2 separate regions of the Homo sapiens genome follow, and region 1 is linked to region 2. Evidence: promoter capture Hi-C in 16 types of primary human blood cells and fetal thymus (Javierre and others, 2016). All regions are on one chromosome and are shown on one strand. The core of a region is centred on a gene start or on the middle of the fragment in contact, and the rest is flanking DNA. Distances in the headings are between cores, read along the strand shown. Region 1 overlaps CCER1 (coiled-coil glutamate rich protein 1). Region 2 holds the start of LUM (lumican).

Evidence for each region. Contacts are between HindIII fragments. The CHiCAGO score rates a contact against its expected background, and 5 or more counts as called.
Region 1: a fragment that was not itself captured here is called in contact with the fragment with the promoter of LUM in region 2 in 1 of 17 cell types (M2 macrophages); the score reaches 5.2 in M2 macrophages.

Annotation. Positions count from the first base shown.
Region 1 is chr12:90,947,987-90,953,049 of GRCh38, forward strand. It overlaps CCER1 (coiled-coil glutamate rich protein 1), which reads right to left. Exons shown (of 1, transcript NM_152638.4): 1 at 4,229-5,063. LINC00615 (long intergenic non-protein coding RNA 615) reads left to right here. Exons shown (of 5, transcript NR_038868.1): 5 at 1-683. Among named protein-coding and RNA genes, the nearest start is that of CCER1, 4.7 kb to the right of the region's middle. The HindIII fragment of the contact is 2,543 bases long and covers 1,718-4,260 here.
Region 2 is chr12:91,108,714-91,113,641 of GRCh38, forward strand. It overlaps LUM (lumican), which reads right to left and starts at 2,781. Exons shown (of 3, transcript NM_002345.4): 1 at 2,685-2,781; 2 at 1-287. The coding sequence starts at 266. The HindIII fragment of the contact is 5,015 bases long and covers 1,544-4,928 here.

The sequences.
Region 1 (5,063 bases), core at 1,739-4,238, 160 kb before region 2:
ACTCTCTGGGCTCGAACCAATACAAGCACCTTTCAAGCAGTATATTCTTCAGTGTCTTGATCCTCCAAATAACTCTCTTCTAATTCCTCCTGACCACAAAAAGCACTTATACTCTAGGATGACTGATTCCAGCCCAGTGGCCTGGCAAGGGTGAATTACACCTTGCATATCACACTCTTGACATTTGTGTGCGCTAGCATAAGAATTATAATTGAAACAGGGATTTAAGTATCTCCTCTCTAGGTGCCTACCCTCCTTGGACTCAGGTCAAATTTATTAAAGGAAGTTTTGTTTCTAGATAGGTTGTTTGAAATAAAATAACAGAATGTTCAAGTAACACAGTGTACCTACAGCTTTTAACAAAATTGAGGACTTGGGTCTCGAAACAATTTCCTTTGATTTTCAGGTATTTTATCTATAAAAAGGGAGATAAAGCATTAGTTCATAGGACAGTTATATGTTTAAATGTGATAATGTATATTAACCACCTTGCATGTATTCAAATGTGTTTTGAAATCTAACGTCTACATTTTGATAGTTTAACTGTTCTACATAAGTGACTTACAACAGGCATTAAATATTGTTTGGCATTTTCATATATCTGTAACTGTATCTTAATCTACAATGAGCTTAATTTTAAGTGTAGCATAAAACAGAACCTTCAATAAAGTGGTAATATTAGGAATGATATCCAGTTATCTTATACACTTATAAAGTTACCTATAAATTCTTACGAATATTTTTCTAAAGTAAAATTTTGATTTTACTTTAATTATAGATGAGAAGCAACAAAGCAACATTTATAACAATTTATCCCACTCAGGCATTTGTTCCCACCAAATGTGTATATTGATATACGTACACATAAAATATTCCTGTGTTAGATTGTCGTCACATCACTTATATAAACTATTAACCCACTACAAACAAATTTGTTTTTCAAGTATTACAGTTGCATTGATTTTGATTTTGAAAATATGCATTCAACTATCCATTGCTTCTATGGAAAAGGACGGGTAATTCTTAGCACCAACCATTAGAGCATTAATGTCAACCGTAAAAGGAAACATCATTGACCTGGGGCAAGGGCAGGGGCAGAGGGGAGATAAAGGACAGAGAATATTATCTTGGGAAAGAGTTCAACTCTAGAGATTTAACTGGTTCTCATATAGTCTGCATAATGGTATCTGCAGCTCAAAGGTAATGTATCTGATTAGAGTTACACTAGGGGAAATAGGGCAGAGTTAATTAATCATTTTGTTATTTTGGGAGATTTTACACTTATAGTTGCTCGCATCACTAACAAGTAACTTTTAGACACCACATAACATGTCTATGACCTCATTTGTGTATTTACTGAATACTTATTGTAACTAGGAAGTATTGAATGCCACTGTTCTGAGTGCTTGGTAACTATTATCTCACTTAGTCTTTACAATCTCATTTCATCCATGAGGTAGGTACTATAGATGAGGAAAATGAGATGTCAAAATTTCAGTAACAACCCTGAGGTCACACAAGCAATAAATGATAGTTTTGAATGCATAAACCATAGTCTTAATCATTAAATTCCCATGAGGCTTCTGCAATGGATCTAACACCTGGGTGTCAGTGCTGCTGGTTCATAGACCACACTTTAAAAATCATGGCAGTAGACAATGTGAAGTGTCCATTTACACACTATTTTACCAGAAGCCAAAACTACATTTCAAGGACAAGCTTGTTCATACTTAGTTCTGTGGTATTAATAACAACTGAAATATCTGATATGTCAGCCCAATAGAATTGCTATAAGATTTTCTGGGTCTTGCTAATAAATTTAGACTGAACTAATGTTCAGAAATTATGTGAGATAACTTTATAAAATGTAGTTTAACATATAATGGTCAACAGTGTTTTGCAGTTATAATACAATTCTTCTTAAATATTGAGTATTTTGTCTTCACAATATACCTAAGTGATAAAGTATAATCACTAACACTGAGGAAAGAGAAACCCAAGGCAAGTGGCCACCATCACAGGTCACTTAGGCAGCAGGACAACACACATCCAGGCCTTCCCATGCCACATCCAAATCTTCTCTTCCATTAGCCGACCTTGACATTGGACTGTATTCCACTAATTAACTAAAACTAAATAAAGAAAAATGCTACTTAGCTACTGAAACAGCTAAGATAGCCACATTCTGATTTTGATTTTAATATATAGATAATCAAGGCCAAGGTGATATGACAACATTGAGTAATTTTCGGTTGTCTTACATTAACATAAACCTTATTGAATACAAAACATGGCTGCATGTATCATTTTATTACGCTGCTAAAAAAACCTGTAATTTAAGGACTTTTTTTAGTCTTATCGACTCCCTTAACCCAAGGTCACCTATAGGAGATGTATCATTTATTTCCCAGATCTGTAGGTTTGTGTTAACTGGAGGAGATTAGTCATTTCACCTCTACATTTATTTTAATAGAACTAAATATGTTACAAATACTGTCTTCCTCATATACGGATGTTCTACAATTTTATAAAATCATACTCAGAGTTCAGAGTTGATCTCTAGATGTCAAGTGTATTTACCATCTTTAGAGGGCTAATATTTTCACATCAAATAAAATTCCTCGAGGTTACTGTGGAGACAAAGTAATGAAGACAAATCAAGAAATGCTGTCAGTCTCTAGAGGATGAAAATGCCAGAATCTCCACATGAGAAAAAAAACCTCAGAATAGACAGCAACAACGCTTATCAAGTCCAGGCCCTATAATCATGTTTTATGATTTATAACGTTATTTTTCTGACAACTGGCAGAATAGCTCCATTCTTGAAAGAAATGCCTAACTGGCACCTCATCCTCACTGTGCTCACCCAATAAAGTTTGAAATAATTTTAATAATAATGAATTTATTTTGGAAAATTGTATTTTCTCTTCATGTGTACACATACCTCTAAAACTAAAACTGTGCAAGAGGCTCTCCATGGGAGTTGAGAACTATGGTGCTCCAATCATGCTGAGCAAGAAACCCTAAGATCCCCCTCATTACATGATAGTGGTTGGTTAGAATGGTGGGTGTCCCGGGATGACCAATCCCTTCAACCCCTAACATGGGTTAATTATTTCATATTAGCCATCAGGATTAGTAAAGCAAGCATCACAGTATCTGGCTAGTTAAAAAAAAAAAAAAGAAGAAGGTCAGGTAGAGAATCATCAATGACTAATAGTTTTCTCCTCTCATTAATTTTTGCTGGTGTCTATTCTAGAAGATATGGATGGCATAAAAGTCAATAGAATAGATAATATGGATTCTGCATACTTCTCTCACTTGTCATTGGCCGTTGCTTCCAGACATGCTGGTCTTTCTATCCTCAGTTCCTCAAAGGCATCAAGCTCCTCTCAGCTCTTGGCCTTTAGACTTAGGGGTCCCTCTGCCCACGATAAACATCCTCAGCCTTACTCCTGGGTTCTCTAGTGATCTATGTTTTTATAGTGGTACATTTCCTTCAGACCACTTGCAATGAGCAATCCATCTAACTCATTTAATGTCTGACTTTTCTACTAAACAATAACAATGTCAGAATGGGGTTTTGCTTATTCACCATTGTATTCTTATCACTGTTCACAGTGCTTGGCCCCCAGTAGTTCAATATTTGCTGAATAATGGTTCATGCACAAGAATGTAGACTCCTGAGGCATTGCACATGTTTACATCCCTTAAAATAACTAGTGAATAACATCTTTGCATATGAAGGCAATTAATATGTGGTGAATTCTTAAATTTAAAATATTTTGCAGGAAGAAATAGAGAAATGTCCAGATGGGATTGTAAATAAATTCAATCCTAAATGAAAAAAGGCTTCTCCAGTGAGAACATACTTAACTTTGACCTTTTGATTAAGTGTCATCAGTAAAGTATTTATGGGCTATGACTTGCATGGATTTATTACCTAGCTTCAGGAGCTGGATTCTTGATTTCCCTCTACTTATATATATTAGAACAGTAAAACACATAGGGATGGCTACTTTTAATTTTATAGGTCATTCAGAAATTGCATCTTGTAGAAAGTAATGATATCTTAGAGTTTTGGTTATTCACCACTGCAATTTGGAATGTTTGGTGTAATTTTAAAATTCCTAAGTTTTTTCCCCCTTTCTTCTATTCATCCTTTTGGCCACTGAAGCATTGCTGCATGGATTTGTGATATTTCAATAATGAGAAATGAGAGGCAAGGTACTTTAATACTTTTTATTATTTAATAGCTCAAGCTTATCACCTTGAAAATTGTAATATATCAGTAACAACCAACATTCAGGTAAGACATCACCACACATTCTTCTCTTCAACAAATAAATGCTAACTTGTGGTTCAAAGTCAAAAGATTTAATTTCTGAGAAGGCATGTTTAAATTCATCATCTAGGGATATTCTGGAAATATGCTATGGATGGAACTTTTATCAACTGTCCAGGAAGAAATGTATTATTACTTCCTAAAAATGTTTGAACAAAAGCTATTACTTTGAATGATGTATTCTCCATAGGTAATTGCTGTTTAGACATCAGAAACTAGCTCACACAGACTCACACTTACACATCTTTGTTTTACTCTTCTTTATAACAAAGACAAATTCAAAAACAAAATAAGATATTCCACCCCCAAAAGGTAGATAATCTTTTTATCTAAAAAAAAAAATCCATTCTGGAAAACTATTTTTATGGCTCCTCAGAACTTAGGATAAAGACTATATCCAATAACGAGGCTTCAAAACCTAAGCCATGTTCCACTGTTTGCAGTTACCTTGGACTTTAACTAGATGTGCAAGTTGACTTCTGACCATGGGGAATCCTCTCCATGACTGGATTATGGATTGTTGAGGCCATGGCAGATAACCAGTTCCACAGAAGCAACTTCATGTTCTTCTGAGGAAGATCCATAGCACTGTGGAACAAGGAATATCAATAAGCGATGACACAAGAGCCTGCAAATGAGGTTAACAAAATATAACCCTCAAAAATGAACTCTGATGGTGGAAAAATCTATGAGGAAAAATATTGTTGAAAAAATACAG
Region 2 (4,928 bases), core at 1,531-4,030:
ACATTCTCAAAGGCCTTTTCATCAATATGGTCAATCTGGTTATTCCTAAGGTAAAGATACTTGATTCCAGGAGGCACCATTGGTACACTTTTCAATTTCAGCTCATCACAGTACATGGCACTTGGGTAGCTTTCAGGGCAGTTACATTCTGGTGCACAGTTTGGTGATGATTGCCCATAAATTGATAGGGGAAAATCATAATCATAGTACTGGCCACTGGTACCACCAATCAATGCCAGGAAGAGAGTAAATGCACTTAGACTCATTTTTGGCAAATGGTTTGAATCCTAAATAAAGATGAAACATTTATTAATTAAAAAAATATATACTTTCAAGAAAAAGACATTCAATTTGCAACATTAAATTCATTAGAAAATGTGCATTTTGTTATTTTATAGCTATTTTTAGTGCATCTAACAGCGTCTTTTAAATTTTTATTTAGGTATGAGGACAAAGGTGTATGTTTACAACTATGTAGTGAGCAGCTTTCAGGTTAGATTGCGTACACGTGCGCCCCCTTCTGGGCGAGCCCAGCCTAATTGTTCCAGTCAATCTCCAGGCTCTTCCTTAATGAAATGCCTTCCTGTAAGAGGTTTCTGGGTGGTGTTCATTGACCACCGAATTAGACTACTGCTTCAGATCATCTCTCAAAAAAAGAGAATGAGAAGACAGTTTTTAACTGTATACTCTACCCTACCATTCGACATCATTAAAATGACTCATGAAGAAGATCCTTACGGGAATATGGGCAACCTGAGGTTTTGCTTGTATGTGGGAGGGAAATGGAAGGCACATTCCTTTAAAAGTGTCTGGTTACTGTTGGTTCTGAGGAAGGAGAACAGAATTCTTGGTGCTGGTGTGCATGCATACTAGTTCATGTTGTGCTTAACATTCTACACTTTTTAAAGCACATTGCAAAACTGTGTTCTGGAACTAATATTTCATAAATTAGCTATTTACTAAACAAAATATTAGTAATATTTAATAATTGCTAATGTTTATCAGGAAAATGTCACACATTCTGAAGGTTTCTCTTTCTGGAAAGAGATTCAACAGGTAGAGAAAGATAGTATTTTCCAAGTTTTCAATTAGAGTTATAGTCTCTCTCAATTACTCACAAGTTCTCTACTTTCTTCATGCCAAAATCGAAGATGCCATGGTTTGCATATCTGGCTTTTAGTGGCCTCACAGAATGGAGGTGGGAGAGAGGTGTGATGTTTTTAAAGTTTGGATTTAATACTGGTGTTAGAACTATCTAGTAAATTATTCAATTGAGAATATGAATTTGAAATAATGTGTAACAGTTATCTTCTCATAGGAACATGTTTCTAAGGTGAGGCTCAAAAAAGTACATTTCAATGTCTTAGGTGCAGCAATTTAGATATGGGAAAATTGGAATATAAGAGTTAGACTTTTATAGAGTGAACAGTTGTGGCTGAGGCAAAGTTGGTAGCCCTGGGAGATAAATCATTAATGTGACGAAAGATCTACATTCTAATAGATAACTGAGAATATTATATCTTTCTATGAAAGTATGATTACAAGCTTTTGGATCAAAGTAGTTTGGGATAAGCAGGATCTTTGGGGTTAGAAACTGAAAACGTCTTTTATTTGTTTTAATTTGAAATTGTAAGGCACTTTATTTCAGATCAGATGGAACGTTATAAAACAGCTTTTAGAAATACTTTGATTGCTGACATAAGGTAACATGTAGCCAGATTCTCAGTAAATTACTCTCTAAGATTTTAATGGGGGCATTTAATTTTGCTGACAGAACTTGGCCATAATAATAATTGCATAGCACTAAAAAGAACGTGATGACATATTCCCAGAGTTATTTTAAGTTATAGAATGTAAATACTGTAAAGATTTGTCTTGCTTTATTAATAAGCTATTTTAAATTTACTATACACCAAAATATGGCAACTATAATGTGAGTATTAAATAGTAATGAAAAATGCTTCCATATTTTTTGGCAAAGTAAAAACAAGGATGCTGAATTGAATGAGAGTTTGCAACCATATAATGACTCCACTATGAGGCAAAATCACACTGTACTACCCTCAGTTTTTTCAAATACCTGTGGCTATAGAGAAAATGCTGTTTTCAAAAACGAAATCATTTCCCAGAACTTTTTAAAAAACTCGTTCCTTAAGGCATATATCCAAGAAACAAATTTTTTAAATTAACAAAACAGAAATAAATAATCCATAAGAGTTCCTAAATCTTTTAGCTCATGTTTTATAACATAGAACGTTTATTGTAAATTATAACAAATTGTCACAATATGCTTATTAAAAGATATTTTGAATGCTGATTAAAATGACTTTTCTTTGCTCCAGTATTAGGGTCCAATACTAACATATATAACTAACTAGCATACATAACAAACATATTAATTTCTATATTTTTTCACTGTGTCTACTTTAACTATTTTCTCATTCTAACCTTGAAACTTTTTATAACTTCTCTTGCCAAGCAATACAGCATATACTGTATAAAATCTCAAATCTATAAATCATGGAAAACATATTAACAAAATGTGAAACTAAATGCTCAGAACTGTGGATTTGCTGTTGAATAGCAATTGGCAAAATTGCTCTGGAATTTTTCCTGTTCCTGTTACAAAAAACGCTGTCCCAAACAGTTAACATCCCCAGTGCAATAGTTAAAACAGCACTTACCTTACTGTCTTGACACTGCTTTCGTTAATTCTTAAAGCAGATGCACTATGGACAAGAATCCACCAATATATGCTGTGAACTCTGTCAGGACGGAACTGGCTGCCAGATTCTGAGTGATACAAGAGCTGAAGGGGGGTGGGGAGACCCAGCCCAGTCACGCCAGTCTCTGAATGGAGTTATGTCATTGTGGGGATCTTGTGGTGTGGCATGTGAACACTGCTCTCTAACGAAGTGCAGGTGAACGTGGGGAGAAAGGACAGCCCAGCTCATTCCCTATGGAATGGGAGAGAGATATGTGTTTAACTAGCTCAAATACCATAGCTTTTAACCAAGAATTGAGTCCTGCTTCAAATAAGGAAGCTCACTGTGAGAACATTTTTCTTACAAGCCTCTTTACATCTGTGGCTGTGGCAACAATTAAGTGCAATGTGCTCAGCCAACTATCATGTTTATCTAAAGATCTCAGAAATCATAAGCAGGGCAAATAATTTCAGGAAAACGCAAATGAACAGACTCAGAGGAATTGAATCCCTTTGCCTATCACTTTTGAAATCAATATTGATTTACTTGGACTAACTTAATTTTTTGGCCATGAGGGTAGCTTACATTAGTTTTAAAAATATAAAATATGCTTCATATACACTTGGATACACATGATAAATATCAACATTTCAAGTTTACTTCTAATGCTAAGGAGACTCATTTTATGTTATTCAGGTCTGGAACCAATCAGCAAAGTCTTGCCTGTTTTTTATTTTGTGGATTTCGTTTAGGAATTCACCCAAAACCTTACTTGGGGAGAGCATTCTATAGCTTAATGCCAAAAAACATAAAAGAACAGAGAAAAAAATAAATTTATACTAAAAGTATCACAAGGCAAGAATCTTTCATTGCATGCTAGTAATTTTTTTTCAAAGTTAAAAGTTATTCAAAGTTATAATCTCCCAAAGGCCTGGCTGGATATATCTTTCATTATCAGCTCCTGATGCATGGTTTCAGCAAATGAGAGATGTACTTAAATCCTTGTCTATTTCATTTTGTGATTTTATCAGATATATTTATGAGATTTTTTTCTAAAATGTTCATTTCCTCATGTTTATAAGAACTTTTACACCAATATATTTTAATATAAGTTGTCACATTGTATTTTTGTCTTTAAAAATAACTATATCACATTTTAGCAGTGAGACTTGTGGAAAATTAACTCCATGACTAATACTGCATTTGTCCGAAAAAAAGACTATTAGAATAAATGGCTTATTTTTGTAATAGCAGTGTTCAAAAACAAAAAGTAATCTTCTTGAAAGTAACTAATGGAATTGTAAGATGATTCATAAACATAACATTTTTCCTAATATTATTTTAAGAAAATTATTGATAGGCCTCAGTTTCAACAAAGTAACTGAATAAATTTATAAGGAATTAAGAAAAAAAGACAAATCAATCGAATATAATTAAGTGATCTTGTTATAAGAGGATTCTTAAAACAATGCTATGTATTAATTTTGAGTGTATCAAATTCTATAATCTGAGCTCTTGTTAGAAAAACTCCACCTATCCATTCCTTAAGATTTTTCTTTATAAAGCAATACATGTGTTGTGGTATTTATAACAGACCTCAAATGCATTATATTGGATTTAGCTCATTGTAAAGTCTTGTCAACATATACTTTTTAATAAAATCAGTTCTGTGAAACCAATAATTGAATAATTTTGTGCGTTTCAGAGCATATTTTCAGGGTCCAATAGAAAGAAATGAAATTAACATTTATAGTGGATCTAATATATTCCATGATTTATACTCAGAGTTTTCACATTTCTTCCTTTAAATTTCATACATTAAAATTCCTATGGTATGTTTTACTACTCTATTTTCAGGAGTATAAATGGAGAGTCAGAAAGTCTCATTCATTTGCTAAAAGTCACCTAACAAGTAAATGTAAGAATAAAACCATGAACATCTTCACTCACTGGGAAGAGGGTGAACAGGATGGAGCTGAGACAATGTAGTTCACTCAATCAGCTTAAAATACTTTATAGACAATGTTACTATCAGTTGAGAAAAAGCAGAAATATTAAATAGGCAATAGTTATTTAAAAAGTCAAATGTTAATTAAGCAATAGTTTCTTTCCTTTTACATTACACACTAACATATAACATGCATAGCCACATCCACATCTCAGAACTTTTGGGTAACGTATAAACATTCCATCCTGGCCAATGGTGATTCACATCATTGGTGA